2 separate regions of the Homo sapiens genome follow, and region 1 is linked to region 2. The links are contacts of gene promoters, found by promoter capture Hi-C in blood cells and fetal thymus (Javierre and others, 2016). All regions are on one chromosome and are shown on one strand. Each heading gives the region's core, a stretch centred on a gene start or on the middle of the fragment in contact. The rest is flanking DNA. Distances are from core to core; before and after follow the strand shown. Region 1 holds the start of CXCL17 (C-X-C motif chemokine ligand 17). Region 2 holds the start of CEACAM3 (CEA cell adhesion molecule 3).

The links. The method cuts DNA at HindIII sites, captures the fragments that hold promoters and counts their contacts. A CHiCAGO score of 5 or more calls a contact.
Region 1: the fragment with the promoter of CXCL17 here is called in contact with the fragment with the promoter of CEACAM3 in region 2 in 2 of 17 cell types (total B cells and total CD8 T cells); the score reaches 5.8 in total B cells.

Annotation. Positions count from the first base shown.
Region 1 is chr19:42,436,953-42,444,499 of GRCh38, forward strand. It overlaps CXCL17 (C-X-C motif chemokine ligand 17), which reads right to left and starts at 5,994. Exons shown (of 4, transcript NM_198477.3): 1 at 5,802-5,994. The coding sequence starts at 5,880. All of the region lies in intron 1 of LIPE-AS1 (LIPE antisense RNA 1), which reads left to right. RefSeq lists silencers at 1,565-1,744, 3,423-3,512. The HindIII fragment of the contact is 2,256 bases long and covers 4,948-7,203 here.
Region 2 is chr19:41,794,228-41,800,906 of GRCh38, forward strand. It overlaps CEACAM3 (CEA cell adhesion molecule 3), which reads left to right and starts at 2,360. Exons shown (of 7, transcript NM_001815.5): 1 at 2,360-2,514; 2 at 3,362-3,721. The coding sequence starts at 2,451. The HindIII fragment of the contact is 3,675 bases long and covers 1,489-5,163 here.

The sequences.
Region 1 (7,547 bases), core at 4,744-7,243, 650 kb after region 2:
TTTGAGACGGAGTCTCACTCTGTCGCCCAGGCTGGAGTGCAGTGTTGTGATCTCGGCTCACTGCAACCTCTGCCTCTCGGGTTCAAGCAATTCTCCTTCCTCAGCCTCCCAAGTAGCTGGGATTACAGGCACCCACCACCATGCCTGGCTAATTTTTGTATTTTTAGTAGAGGCAGGTTTTACCATGTTGGTCAGGCTGGTCTTGAACTCTTAACCTCAAGTGATCCGCTCCCCTCGGCCTCCCAAAGCGTTGGGATTATAGGCATGAGATGCTATGCCTGGCCACTTTATACTTTTTCTCTAAACAAATTTATTTTGCAAAACATCCTCATCCTATGCAATATTATCTGTGAAATTACAGGTTTGATGTATGCTTAGTTTTTTCCTAACATGCATTGGAATAAACACATAAATATTAAAGTAAAAAGAAGCTTATTTACTTTCCACCTAAAATCAGTTTTGGGAACCACTGATACAGTGGCATAAGCATGCACTTTATATCCACATAGGCCTGGGGTCAGCTACTGGCTCTGTCACTTAACTGTCGACTTGGACAAGTCACTTGGCTTCTATGATCCTTGATTCCCTGATTTGTGAAAGGAGGGTGGTAAAATCCTCCTTGCAGAGTTGTTGGGAATAAGTGAGCTGCTGTGGGAGCCCAGTGTCCAGGCGGGTGTTGAGTACATGATGGTTATCATTGTGTTTATTGCTGTGGAATTCTGGTTATTTTCCAAAGTGAGTGTCTATGCTGGAATATTGGGCTTGTGGCTTTCTGCTGATGTGGATGTGTAAAGAAGTTACTTCCACTTGTTAGGATTTGTGGTGCATCTGTCATTATTTTCACTTCCCAGATCCACTACATATTTGCTTTGTGATTTTGGACAAAGTTGTGTAACTTTTCTGTGCCTCATTTTCCTAATTTGTAAGATGTGGTTAATAATATTCCTCCCTTATCCACAGGGGATGCATTCCAAGACCCCCAAGATACTTCAAGTCTCAGATAGTACCAAACCCTATATATATATTTTTTCTACACATATACACTTACGATAAAGTCTAATTTATGAATTAGGCACAGTAAGAGATTAACAATAAGATAGAACAATTTTAAAAATATACTGTAATAGGCCAGGTGGGGGCTCACACCTGTAATCCCAGCACTTTGGGAGGCCGAGGCAGGCGGATCACGAGGTCAGGAGATTGAGACCATCCTGGCTAACACGGTGAAACCCCATCTCTACTAAAAATACAAAAAATTAGCCAGGTGTGGTGGCGCACGCCTTTAGTCCCAGCTACTCGGGAGGCTGAGGCAGGAGAATGGTGTGAACCCAGGAGGCAGAGCTTGCAGTGAGCCGAGATTGCACCACTGCACTCCAGCCTGGGCGACAAGAGACTCTGTCTCAAAAAAAAAAAAAAAAAAAAAAAAAAAATATATATATATATATATATATATAAAATACACACACACACACACACACACACACATATATACTGTAATGAAAATGACGTGAATGTGGTCTCTCTCTCTCTTTGTCTCTTTCTCAAGATAACAATATTTTTGGACCACTGTTGGCGGGTAACTGAAACTGCGATTAAGTGGGGACTACTGTACATGAGTGTGCGTGTGTGTTATTTCCCAGCTCTGACCACTAGAGGGCCTAGAAGCACCAGCACCTACTAGCAATGGACCTATCAGTCAGTGCCCATAGTCTGTAAATATCATTCTCCCATGAAAGGAACTAGGGCTTCCAGGAAAAATAGCTGATCCAGGGCTGGGGCAGAAAAACACAAGAGGAGCCCAAAGCTTCTTGTGGTGTCAGAAAGTAAGGAGCTGCTCAAAAAATGGTGGAGATGTGTCTAAAGGTCACAGAAGCCAACTAGAAGGAGCTCCCAATGGCCAATTTTGGGACAATATGAGCAACATAATAAATAATGATAGTAGTGGATTCCAACCCATAAATACTCATGAGTCCATGCTGATATAAATAAATAACTGAACAAATAAATAAATAAGGAAGAGGCTAGGCATGGTGGCTCACGCCTGTAATCCCAGCACTTTGGGAGGCCAAAGTGGGGGGATCACTTGAGGCCAGGAATTAGAGACCAGCCTGGCTAACATGACAAAACCCCGTCTCTACTAAAAATACAAAAATTAGCTGGGTGTGGTGGTGTCTGCCTGTAGTCCCAGCTACTCAGGAGGCTGAGGTGGGAGGATCGCTTGAGCCCAGAAGGTGGAGGCGGCAGTGAGCCAAGATCACACCACTGCACTCCAGCCTAGGCAACAGAGCAAGACTCTATCTCAAAAAAAAAAAAAAAAAAAAAGAAAAAGAAAAAGGAATAACTCTTTCTTATGGCAGAATTCCGATTAAATAAATGTAGAAGGAACAATGGAAGTAGAAAATCACTATTTGGCCAACACCACAGTAATAATTCTTTATAGGAAACAATCATCCATAGATTCTAAAAGTTAATATTAAAAGTATGATGATGCCATAACTGGTGAATAACAAGAAAAAAAAAAGTATGATGAGAAGAAACAGGCTATTTACATATTTCCAAAGTGTCTCTCCACAAGATACTTATTAATTACAATAAGATGAATAGTAACTTTACAGTAGAGAAACCTGGCAGACACCACCTGAACCAAGTGCTTAAAGTGAACCTCATCAGTAATGAGAGATATCGACATCCTGGGGCTCTTGCTGGGATGTCCAGAGAAGGATACATCACTTCTGAAGTATTCTTGCCCAAAATGTGTAGCCGGAAATATCAGACAAACCCATATTCAGGGGGCATTCTACAAAACAACTGGCTAGAACTCTTCAAAAGTGTCAAGGTCCTGAAAGAGAGGGAAAGACTGAGAAACTATCCCAGGTTGGAGGAGACCTAGGAGATCTGACATTTTATTCAGTGGGATCCCAGATTGGAGTCTGGAGCAGAAAAAGGACATGAGTGGGATGATTAGCAAGATTTGAACATTTGTAGATTAGTTAATATTATGGTATCAGTGCTAATCTCCTGGTTTTGATAATTGTATTATGGTTACATAAGATATTGTTTGAAAACAATTGGATGAAGGCTGTACTGGAACTCTATTTTTACAATATTTTTCAAAGTCTGAAAAATGAAAAGTAAGAAAAAGTAAGAAATGCATTAGATTTGTGAGGACAAATGAGATAGTAAGTGTGAAGTGATTAGAACAATGCTTGTGATATAGGAGTTCTTAATGTGTCTGATATTATAAGTAATTTTATAATTAAATAATATTATAATTAATGAATAATCTGTTATTTTAAGTAATTTATTTCCTAATGACCTCATATATTCTCACTTATTTCTATTTCCCTTAACCCTGTGAAAAGCATATTGAGCATGTATGTGATTAAGAGATAAAATAAGATTAGACTTTATTCTGAGATTTATTTTGGGGATGGAGGAGCTATTATTTCCTTTAGCCACTAAGTAGCTCAGACTCAGGCCTGCACTGCAAAACTTTGCTTGGCTGGGAAACAAGATTTGAGCCCGGCCGCCACCCACTCGACGTGGTTTGTGATGGCGCCCCCTGGTGGCGCAGGGAGCTTTCCCCAGTTCCTCACCCTCGTGCTTTAGGAGCGACTTAGAAACTACTCAGTCCATTTATTAAACCCTTTCTAGGACACGCTGCGGATCATTTAATCTTCACAAGTGTGTGTGACAAGTGGTATTTTCTTCATTTTAAGATGATAAAACTGAAACTCAAAAAAGTGAGGCGACTTGTCTAGGGTTGCAAAGTGTGTGGCAGAGCCAGGATCTAGGTCCCCCTGACTTCCAAGCTGAGTGTAAAGGTCTAGGTGAGTCTAAAAGTGTGGCCATGCAGAGAAGTATTGGTGTAGAGCAGTGGTTGTTGACCAAGGGTGGTTCCCCCTCCGGGGTCATTTGGCGATGTCTAGAGATATTTTTGGCTGCCATAACAGGGGTTTGGATGAGGGAGAGGGGAGGCTGCTATTGGCATGTAGGGGAGAGAGGCCACGCGGATGCTGCTGAACATCTCACAATACACAGAACAGCCCCCACCGCAAGGAACTGTTCAGCCCAAATGTCAGTAGAGCTGCTATGAAGCCCTGGTTTGATTTAGCAACCTGAGGATGCATTCTTGCAGTTAGCTAATGTTTGCTGAGTACTGAGCTGGATAGCGTGAGGGATATGGAAACAGTGCACCAGTCTGTGTCACCAAGTAGTTTGCAGCCTAGAAGGACAGGGGGTGGGGGCAGGAAAGGCACATGAAGGCCCTCAATATAAGGCAGCAGATGATAAGTGCAAGAAGAGAGTGTCCAGCAGGGCTAAGCCAGCGCTCAGGAGGGAGACCACATGTCTGGCTGTGGGAGGAACTGAAGGAAGCTGTGGGAAGGTGGTTTTGAGCTGGGTGTGTGAGCAAAGTTGAACTGGTGGAAAAACACAATACCTGTTCAGGGAAGGGCAAACAGGTTAGTTTGGTTGGAGAAATAGTATTTTTAGTGAGTAGAGGGAGGTACACTAGAAAGGCAGGTTGGGGCTACAGCTTTGAATCCAGGCAGAGGACTCTAGCCTGGGTGTCTGTCATAGTGATGGAAAAGTCTTCCCTTTCAGAACAGTGGTCTAGGCCCTAGGGCTATGGGGCTTAACAGCTTCCAGAGCACTCTCTCTACAAAGGAGGGGATGTTGGAAATTGGGGTGGAGAAGGGAGAATGCCTCCTGATTTTAGGACCAAGTTGATGCTGAGTATGTAACATAGCCATTTCACCTCAAAGTGGCCTTTGGGGAGATGGTGCTCACAAGCGGAAATATACATGGGGATCAGGTCTTTTCTGCGTGGTTGCTCTGTGCAGGGCTGGGCCACTTTATAGTGAAAGCTGGAGCAGATTTGGAACCCCTAAGCTAAAGTCGGCTTCCCAAAATGTGAGCTGTTACAGCAGGGCTTGCTATGGATAAAGCTTCAAATATGGACACTACCTGGTGACAGGCTTTTTCTAGTTTATTACGTTACCAGTAAATAGCATTAAGACATGTTGGTGGCATTCCAGTGCACTGTAAAGAATAGAAGCAAGGACTTCCTGATCTTCTATAAAGGTACCATTGCCTTCAACACTCTCCCACCATCATCATTAAGTTTAGCCATGAGAATTATGTTACTCTTTTGGAAAAGTGTTGGGGGAGAAGGCATGGGAGCAAATCTTTGTTGAGCTAGTATATACATACATACGTACGTGTGTGTGAGGGGGATCAGCTACAATTGCAGATATCTTCTTTTCTTTTCTTTCCTTTTTTTTTTTTTTTTTTTTTTGAGATGGAGTCTCACTCTGTCACCCAGGCTGGAGTACAGTGGTGCCGTCTCGGCTCACTGCAGCCTCCACCTCCTGGGTTCCAGCAATTCTCTGGCCTCAGCCTCCTGAGTAGCTGGGACTACAGGTGCGTGCCACCAGGTCTGGCTAATTTTTTGTATTTTTAGTAGAGATGGAGTTTCACCGTGTTAGCCAGGATGGTCTCGATCTCCTGACCTTGTAATCCGCCCTGCCTTGGCCTCCCAAAGTGCTGGGATTACAGGAGTGAGCCACCGCGCCCGGCCAGTTGCAGATATTTTCACATACAATATCTCGTTTAACTCTCTCAACATTGTTTGGGTGTAAGTACAGTTTGCTGTTTTTTTGTAAAGGAGGAAACTGGCATTGAGAAAGGCTCACTTGCCCCATCCCCCATAGCTAAGAGAAGCTGCATTTTGATGTGTCTGTGGCCTGTTTTGCCACATTTCTCCCCCCGTTTTCCCCTTCATAGACAGTCTTGTTTACCTGGATTCAGGCTGCTAGAGACCATGGACATCAGCATTAGTGGCAGCAACAGGAGGAGGGAAGAGATTAGAACTTTCATCGCAACTGTCGGTGCAGCTGTAAGTTGCTTGAAGAATATAATGGAAGGTTCCCTGCTGGAGGCTCCTGATCCCTGGGGATGACTCAGGTCAGGATACTCAGCCTGGTGGTCTATGCTTTAGTCCCAGGCCAGCGTTCCCATTTGAGGGCGAGAACAGGTGAGGTGACGCTGTCTTGCTGTTACGTAACAGATTAGACCATGTGCTTTATGGGAATCTGGGAGGTGAAACTGGTCAAACAAAAGAAATTCAGCATTCTTAAGAACATAAGAAGGTGACTGATAACTTGGCAGCTGTGCCAGTTCTCTCCTGTACTCTTTCCCGCCTCCTCACACCCCAATGCCTCATGATTTCTTCCTCAAATCTTTTTTTCTTGCTTGGATTTCCTTATACCTTTCAATGACCCTCTCTATCTGAATATTTGGCAGGAAAGTGGATACTAAGTGTTGGTAGAAGAGACTTTGACAAGGTCTGTTTCCCCTCTGTGCTCCTGCTCCCATCCTTGGCAAAATATCGGCAATAGTAGTGTTGTTGCCTGGGAAGTTGCCCTGTCCTCTCTCTGTTCACAATTCCCTCCAATTCTGCAGCCACATAAGATGGCAGCAGAGCAGGATCCGGGACAAGAGGCAGCTCCCCTGCCGAGAACACCGCCCCTGGAGCAGTGGGTGACACCAGGCCTCCTTGTGTGTCCATCGGGAAGGTGGCCATGGCTTAGTTGTTCTGGTCTAAAGGGGAGGGAACTGGGTTGGGGGAAGAGACCCCCAGAGCTTTAGGTCTCAGAGGGTTTGAGAAACAGGAGCCACAGGAGGGAAGGAGCCCTGAAGTGTGTTTGCCCAGCTGCTGGGGCGCCTGGCTCCAGCCCTTGTTTGGAAATGGCCCCGGGCAAAAGAAGAAAGGTAATAATACTTGAAGTAAACATTAGGGGCATAGAATATCAGCACTCACTAAACTTGACATTTATTTGAGACTTTAGGAAATGTGCTCAAAGGGAGAGGAGAGGCTGGGCTTGAATGCTGGGTGATATTCATGGGGGCTGAAGGGAAGGCTAACAAGGGAGCCCTTTTTTTGGAAGCCTCCAGGCAGGAGTGAGAGCAGGGGGTGTGACTTTATTTCCCTGAGAGAAGGAAAGAGGAAAGGCATGAGTCAAAGCCCTTTGGTTTTGTTTGACCATTCTTTTTTCTCCACGTTTTCAAATTATCTCGGCCTGTTGACTTGTCACAGAGTTGATTGTGGACTTTGCTACTGCAGTGTTTATAAAGCACTGCAGGGGCCAGGGACTGCTATGACTGAGCCTGTGTCCAAGTTGAAGGCTCAGGGTGGGCCTAAGCTTGTTCTGATGCAAATCACTGATGTGGCTTCTTTCTGGAAAATTCTAAAACCAGGGAGATGACATCCATTTCATAAAGCCTAGAGATATGGGTGCAGTCATCTCTCAAAGTGGCAGGAGTGCAGGGGGACTGAGAGGGACTTGGTTGGGTGGAACTTGAGCTGGAGTTGGGGGAGGATTTGGGTTGGTGGAGGGCAGAGAGGAGGGCCGTGCAGAGCAGGGGCGTGTTGTAGGAGAGGTGCCTCCTGGAGCTCATTGGATGGGGATTTTAGAGGACAGGAGCTGTTCGTGTTCATTTTTGTATTGCTTGAACTTACACAGGGTCTGGCACTTTGGGAGTAT
Region 2 (6,679 bases), core at 1,110-3,609:
TTTTTTCTGCTCCAGAGTCCAACCCAGGATCCCACACTGAATAACACTGTCACATTTCCTAGGCCTCCTCCAACCTGGGGGAGTTTCCCACTCTTTCCCTCTCTCAGGACCTTGATGCTTTTGAGGAGGTCTGGTCAGTTGTTTTGTAGAATGCCCCTCAATTTGGGTTTGTCTCATGTTTCCTTGGGATGTTTCAGGTTATGCATTTTGGGCAAGATTAGCACAGAAGCGATGTGTCTTTCTCAGGACATCCCAGCCGGAGCCCCAGGATGTCTATATCTCTCATTACCGATGAGGTTCACTTTAAGCGCTTGGTTCAGGTGGTGTCTGCCAGGTTTCTCTACTGTGAAGTTACTATTCATCTCATTGTAATTAATAAGTATCTTGTGGACAGGTACTTTGGAAATATGCAAATAGCCAGTTTGTTCTTAGCATACTTTTACCAATTAATTTCTAGAATCCAGAGATAATTGTAGCCGATAAACAATTCTTACTGTGGTGTTAGCCAGTGATTTTCTGCTTCCATCATTGCTTCTACACTGATTAACTGGAACGCTGCTGTAAGAAAGAGCTAGTTCTTCTTTCTCATTTATTTATGTATTCACTTATTTATATATATATCAGCATGGACTCTCAAGTATTTATCGGTTGGACTACATTACTATTATTATTGATTATGTTGCTATATTGTCCCCAAATTGGCCATTGGGAGCTTCTTCTAGTTGGCATTTGTGATACTTTCCACACATCCCCATCATTTTTCAAGTTGTGCCTTACTCTCAGGCCCCGCAAGATGCTCCAGTCTCCTCTTGTGGTTTCCTGCCCCAGCCCTGGAATCAGCCATTTCTCCAGGGAACCCTGGTTCCTTTCATGGGAGAATGATGTTTACAGACCATGGGCGCCCATATGCCCATTGCTAGTAGGTGCCGGTGCTTCTATGCCCTCTAGTGGTCAGAGCTGGGAAATAACACACCCACACTAGTGTACTGTTACCCACATTTCACAAATTAGGTAAATGAGGCACAGAAAAGTTAGGCAACTTGACCAACATCACAGAGAAAATAGGTAGTGGAACTGGGAAATGAAAATAATGACAGATGCACCACAAGTTCTAACAAGCAAAAGTAGCTTTTTCACACATCCACATCAGCAGAAAGCCACAAGCCCAATATTCCGGCGTAGACACTCTTTGAAAACCAGAATTCCACAGCAATAACCACGATGACAACCACCATGTACTCAACACCCGCCTGGGCACGGGGCTCCCACAGCAGCTCACTTATTCCCAACAACTCTGCAAGGAGGATTTTACCATCCTCCTTTTACAAATCAGGGAATCAAGGATCATAGAAGCCACGTGACTTGTCCAAGTCAACATAGTTAAGTGACAGAACCATTAGCTGTCCCCAGGTACATCTGGACATAAAGTTCATGTTTATGCCACTGTGTCAGCATTTCCAAAAACTGATTTTAGGCGAAACGTAAGTAAGCTTTTTAAAAACTTTAATACTTATGCGTTTATTTTAATATACATTGAGAAAACATTTAAGCACACATCAAATCTGTAATTTCATGGACAATATTGCATAAGACAAGGATGTTTTGTCTCCAACTCCTGGCCTCAAGCCATCCTCCCACCATAGCCTCTCGAGTAGCTGGGATCACAGATCTGAGCCACCGATCCCTGCTAGGACAGGATGTTTTGTAAACTAAATTTATTTAGAAAAAAGGATGAAATATATAATAATAAAGGTGGTACAAGCTAGAGAGAAAATCATAAAGTCAGCCTAGAAATGTCTGGTGTCTGGATGACATAAAGCTACAGCACTGTGAAGCCTCATTCTCAGTTACTCCCAGGAAATTAGAGTCACATAATGCTGCAGAAAGAACAGCTCAGAATCTTAGATCCGGGCTTTAGCCCTAGATATATCCATTTGTAGGACCCCAGACATCTCTGTGACCTCCTTGCTGGGAGTAAATCCAACCTTCCCAGACATGTGAGAACAGTAAGAAGACCCTGCACACACAAAGGAGTTTCTCCGTCACAGAGAAAATAACACCAGGTTCAGGGACCCCAGGGACTCTGCATGGTGCTGACAGACCCAAGGCCAAGGCAGAGCAGAGGTCCACGCTGGGGAGGGAGGGTCATCCTGTTATGAAACAGGGATCCAAGTAAGCCTTGCTTCTCAGAGCCTGGTCTGGGGAACTCAAATGTAGACAGAAGGGAGAAAGGAAGAAGAGAAAATGAGGCAAAACTGAGAGGGGAGGGGACAGAGAGGTGACCTGGGCAGAGCTTCACCCATGACCCTGGAAAGTGCTCCTGCCCTGGGAGGAGGCTCAGCATGGAAAGAGGAAGGACAGCAGAGCCTAAGTCACAGTAGCCCTGACTACAGCATTCCTGGAGCCCAGGCTCTTTTCCACAGAGGAGGAAAGAGCAGGCAGCAGAGACCATGGGGCCCCCCTCAGCCTCTCCCCACAGAGAATGCATCCCCTGGCAGGGGCTTCTGCTCACAGGTGAGTGGAGGATTCCTGGGAGTGGGCAAGAGGAGGGATCACAGAGAATGGCTGGGGTCTCCTGGGGAGGATGGGGCTCTGATAGGGGACAGAAGGCTTCTGCTGAAGCCTCAGGGGAGAGAACATCAGAGAGGGACACGGGTCACAACAAGACAATCACATTGAACTGGGATTGATAAGAGGGAGGAAAATCCATTGATCATGTTTTCCAAGTTAATCATTACTGGCCACTACAATTAGAAAATGATAAGAATAAGAATTACATCAGGGTGATACTTTAAATAAAAATATAACCAGGGCACTAAAACCTGTCTTTGACCACCAACCACAAGTTGCAAAATAACCACCACTCCTTAACTCATCCACCAGTATTTGCAATCAAATTTTAGGCACTGGCGTACAACAAATATCAGACAAGTCTCTGTGTTCAAAGAGCTTACACTCTTGCAGAGATGAAGATAGACACCCAAAGAGATCTAGAATGTGAGTTCAGGTGTTGACAAGAGCCCTGGAGGGAACAGAGCAGAAAAAGGTCAGAAAGGGAAGACCCAGGGTCTCTAGAGGAGGTGTCAGGGGAGGGATCTCCCAAGGATGCCCTGATGTGAGCAGGATCTGAGGGCAGTGGGGAGGGAGCCATGCAGACCCCTGGGGAAGGGGATTCCACACAGGAAAATGCCAAGGTTAGAGGTGCTGAAGAAAGAAAGGTCACGTTACTGACCTTGACCAAGTGGGACACACATACACTCTCCAAGGCTGAAGGGTGAAGAGACTCTCTCAGGACCCAGGGCCCCATCTTTCCATCCCAATACATGGGTCCCAATATTGACTGATGCTTTCTCCCTCCTAGCCTCACTTCTAAACTTCTGGAACCCGCCCACCACTGCCAAGCTCACTATTGAATCCATGCCGCTCAGTGTCGCAGAGGGGAAGGAGGTGCTTCTACTTGTCCACAATCTGCCCCAGCATCTTTTTGGCTACAGCTGGTACAAAGGGGAAAGAGTGGATGGCAACAGTCTAATTGTAGGATATGTAATAGGAACTCAACAAGCTACCCCAGGGGCCGCATACAGCGGTCGAGAGACAATATACACCAATGCATCCCTGCTGATCCAGAATGTCACCCAGAATGACATAGGATTCTACACCCTACAAGTCATAAAGTCAGATCTTGTGAATGAAGAAGCAACTGGACAGTTCCATGTATACCGTGAGTATTTCCACATGACCTCTGGGTGTTGGGGGTCAGTTCTACTTCCCACATATGGGATTGTCAGGCCTGGGCTGTGCCTGTGGCCCTCTCTGCATTACATTCTGTATCAGGGTTTGGACATTTAGTGCAGGACACACACGGGGGAGACAAACTTCCACAGATCAGAATTCCTTTCCTGCATCCAGACCCTGCAGACACTCGCTGCAGAGGAAGGACAGTCTGATGGGGGGACTCAGCAGGGCAAGGTCAGTGTCAGAAAAGAACCCCATGGTCTCCCCATGGACCTGACCCTAAGAAAGACCCTGGAGAACTGGATCAGGGCCTGGCCTGAGGGGTCCCCCTAGGATTCTCAGAGAGAAGCTCAACTCTTCCCAGAACTGAGCCCCTGTGCAAATCCCTGTCCCAGATTCCTGACTCCAGGTGACCCTGGGGACCCTAGGGATCCTGTGCCAGGGCTGAGTGAGGCCTCCTGGGCAGGGCTGACTGGGAGCAAGAATTTACCAGCTGTCTGAGGGTCGTGGCTCCTGGAGTTGGTCACCAGCCAGGGTCCAGCCCCAAGAACCTCTCCTGGGCAAGGACAGGGCCTCATCCTTTACCTGAGACTCAGCATGGAGTGAACAGATGGACAAGATTACTAGGGCATGAGCCCACTGCCCAGGGGAACTTAGATGACTCCATGGGAAGTTCAGTATCCCCAGGGGGAGGAAAAAGAAGAGAGAAGATGCTCCCAGCAGCTCCTTTTCCACAAGGGATCAGACTCAGGGACCTCTCTTTTGGAGGCAAATAAGCATAGATGCTGTTCCTTTGGGCAGCTCCTCTATACACAGCTGAGGTCAAGTAATTGTAAATATTTTGAGATTAATTCACAAACAACGTCACAGCCAAATAGCACTTATCCTACTTATTGAAAAAAAAAATTGAGGAACAGGGAGACAGTCACCGACTAGGGTCACACAAGTCAAAGGTGTCAGATTAGAGTCACACGAGGTCTCTCTGCAGCCACAGCTGCCTCTTCTCCACCAGGGGACGGCTGGCGTTATTATTAGACATCTGCAGGCCTGAGACCAGTCCTAAGTTCTCTTTCCTTTTTCTTGGGCATCCACATCTCAGAGGGGGAGATTTTGGTCTGGAGAGTAAGGGGCAAATGGAAAATTAATCAATTTTTCCTGATATAGTTTGGATGTTTATCCTCTCCAAATCTCATGTTGAAATGTGATCCCCAACATTGGAGGTGAGGCCTGGTGGGAGGCGATTGGATCATGGGGGGCTGTTTCTCATGAGTGGCTCAGCACCATCCCCTTGGTGACAAGTCAGTTCTCACTTTGAGTGCACAGGAGATCTGGTTCTTTAAAAGTGTGTGGCGCCTCCACACTCTCTCTTGCTCCTGCTTTTGCCACATGACACCACCTGCTCCCCCTTCTCCTTCCACCATGATTGTAAGCTTGCTGGGTCTCACCAGAAGCCGAGCAGACGCTGGTGCCATGCCTGTATAGCCTGCAGATCCCTGCATCAATTAAATCTCTTTTCTTTATAAATTACCCAGCCTCAGACATTTCCTTATAGTAACAAAAAATAGCCTAACACATTAGCCTAACCTAGAACTAAATCCCTTGTGTCAACAGAGTCAGTGCCAGGAATGTCCGGGCCTCCCTCTCAGATGCGCACCACTGCCCTCACTCGACCTGAAATCCTGTGTTTCCTGATGTGTCAGTGACACTCCCACAGGAGGATAAAACACTCCCCACTCACACCCTGCACCAGCGCAGGGCCCAGTGAGAGACACACACTCAGTAGTTCTCTGACGAAGGAGGGAAGGAATGAATGATGAATAATTCTTAAACTCTTCAGAGACCGGATCTTGGATGCAGAATCCTATAAGGTTCTGGCCACACCTGTTTCCTGTCCCTCCAGGGGCCGGGATCCTTGTTGCATTCCTCTAACCCCTGCCCCTAAAGCTACCCCAAGAACCGCATCTCATGGGACTCTGGCACAGCTCACCTGTGGGAAGGTTTTCAGGTCTCCCTGGTCCTGGTTTGTGGGCGGCAGGTCACCCAGGCGCCGAGGCAAGAGACCAAGGACACGAGCTGTTCCAGTATAATAAAATATAAAACAAGAAAAGTTATACCAGATATAGATCTTAGATATGATTATATGTGAATATCATTAATCATTAGTTGGTAGCAATTACTCTTTATTCCAGTATTATAATAATCCTCGCTCTATAATCACAACCTAGGAAAAGCCAGGCCATACAGAGATAGGAGCTGGGGAGACATAGTGAGAAGTGACCAGAAGACAAGAGTGCGAGCCTTCTGTTATGCCCAGACAGGGCCACCAGAAGGGCTCCTTGGTCTAGCGGTGACACTAGCGCCTGGGAAGACGCCCGTTGCCAGGCAGACCGAGGTCTAGCGGTAGCGTAAGTGTCAAGGGAAAACACCCGCTACTTGGCAGACCGGGAAAGGGAGTCTCCCTTTCCCCGGGAGAGTTTAGAGAAGACTTTGCTCCTCCACCTCTTGTGGAGGGCCAGACACCAGTCAGGTCCACTCGCAGTTATCCGGAGGCCTAACCGTCTCCCTATGATGCTGTGCTTCAGTGGTCACGCTCCTAGTCCGCCTTCACGTTCCATCCTGTACGCCTGGCTCTGCCTTCTAGATAGCAGTAGTAAATTAGTGAAAGTACTAAAAGTCTCTGATATGCAGAAATAATGGCATAAGCTGTCTTTCTCTTTGTCTCCTCTCTCTCTCTGCCTCATCTGCCAGGCAGGGAAGGGCCCCCTGTCCAGTGGACACATGACCCACGTGACCTTACCTATCATTGGAGATGACTCACACTCTTTACCCTCCCCCTTTTGCTTTGTATCCAATAAATAACAGCGCAGTCAGACATTCGGGGCCACTACCAGTCTCCGCGCATTGGTGGTAGTGATCCCCCCGGGGCCCAGCTGTCTGTTCTTTT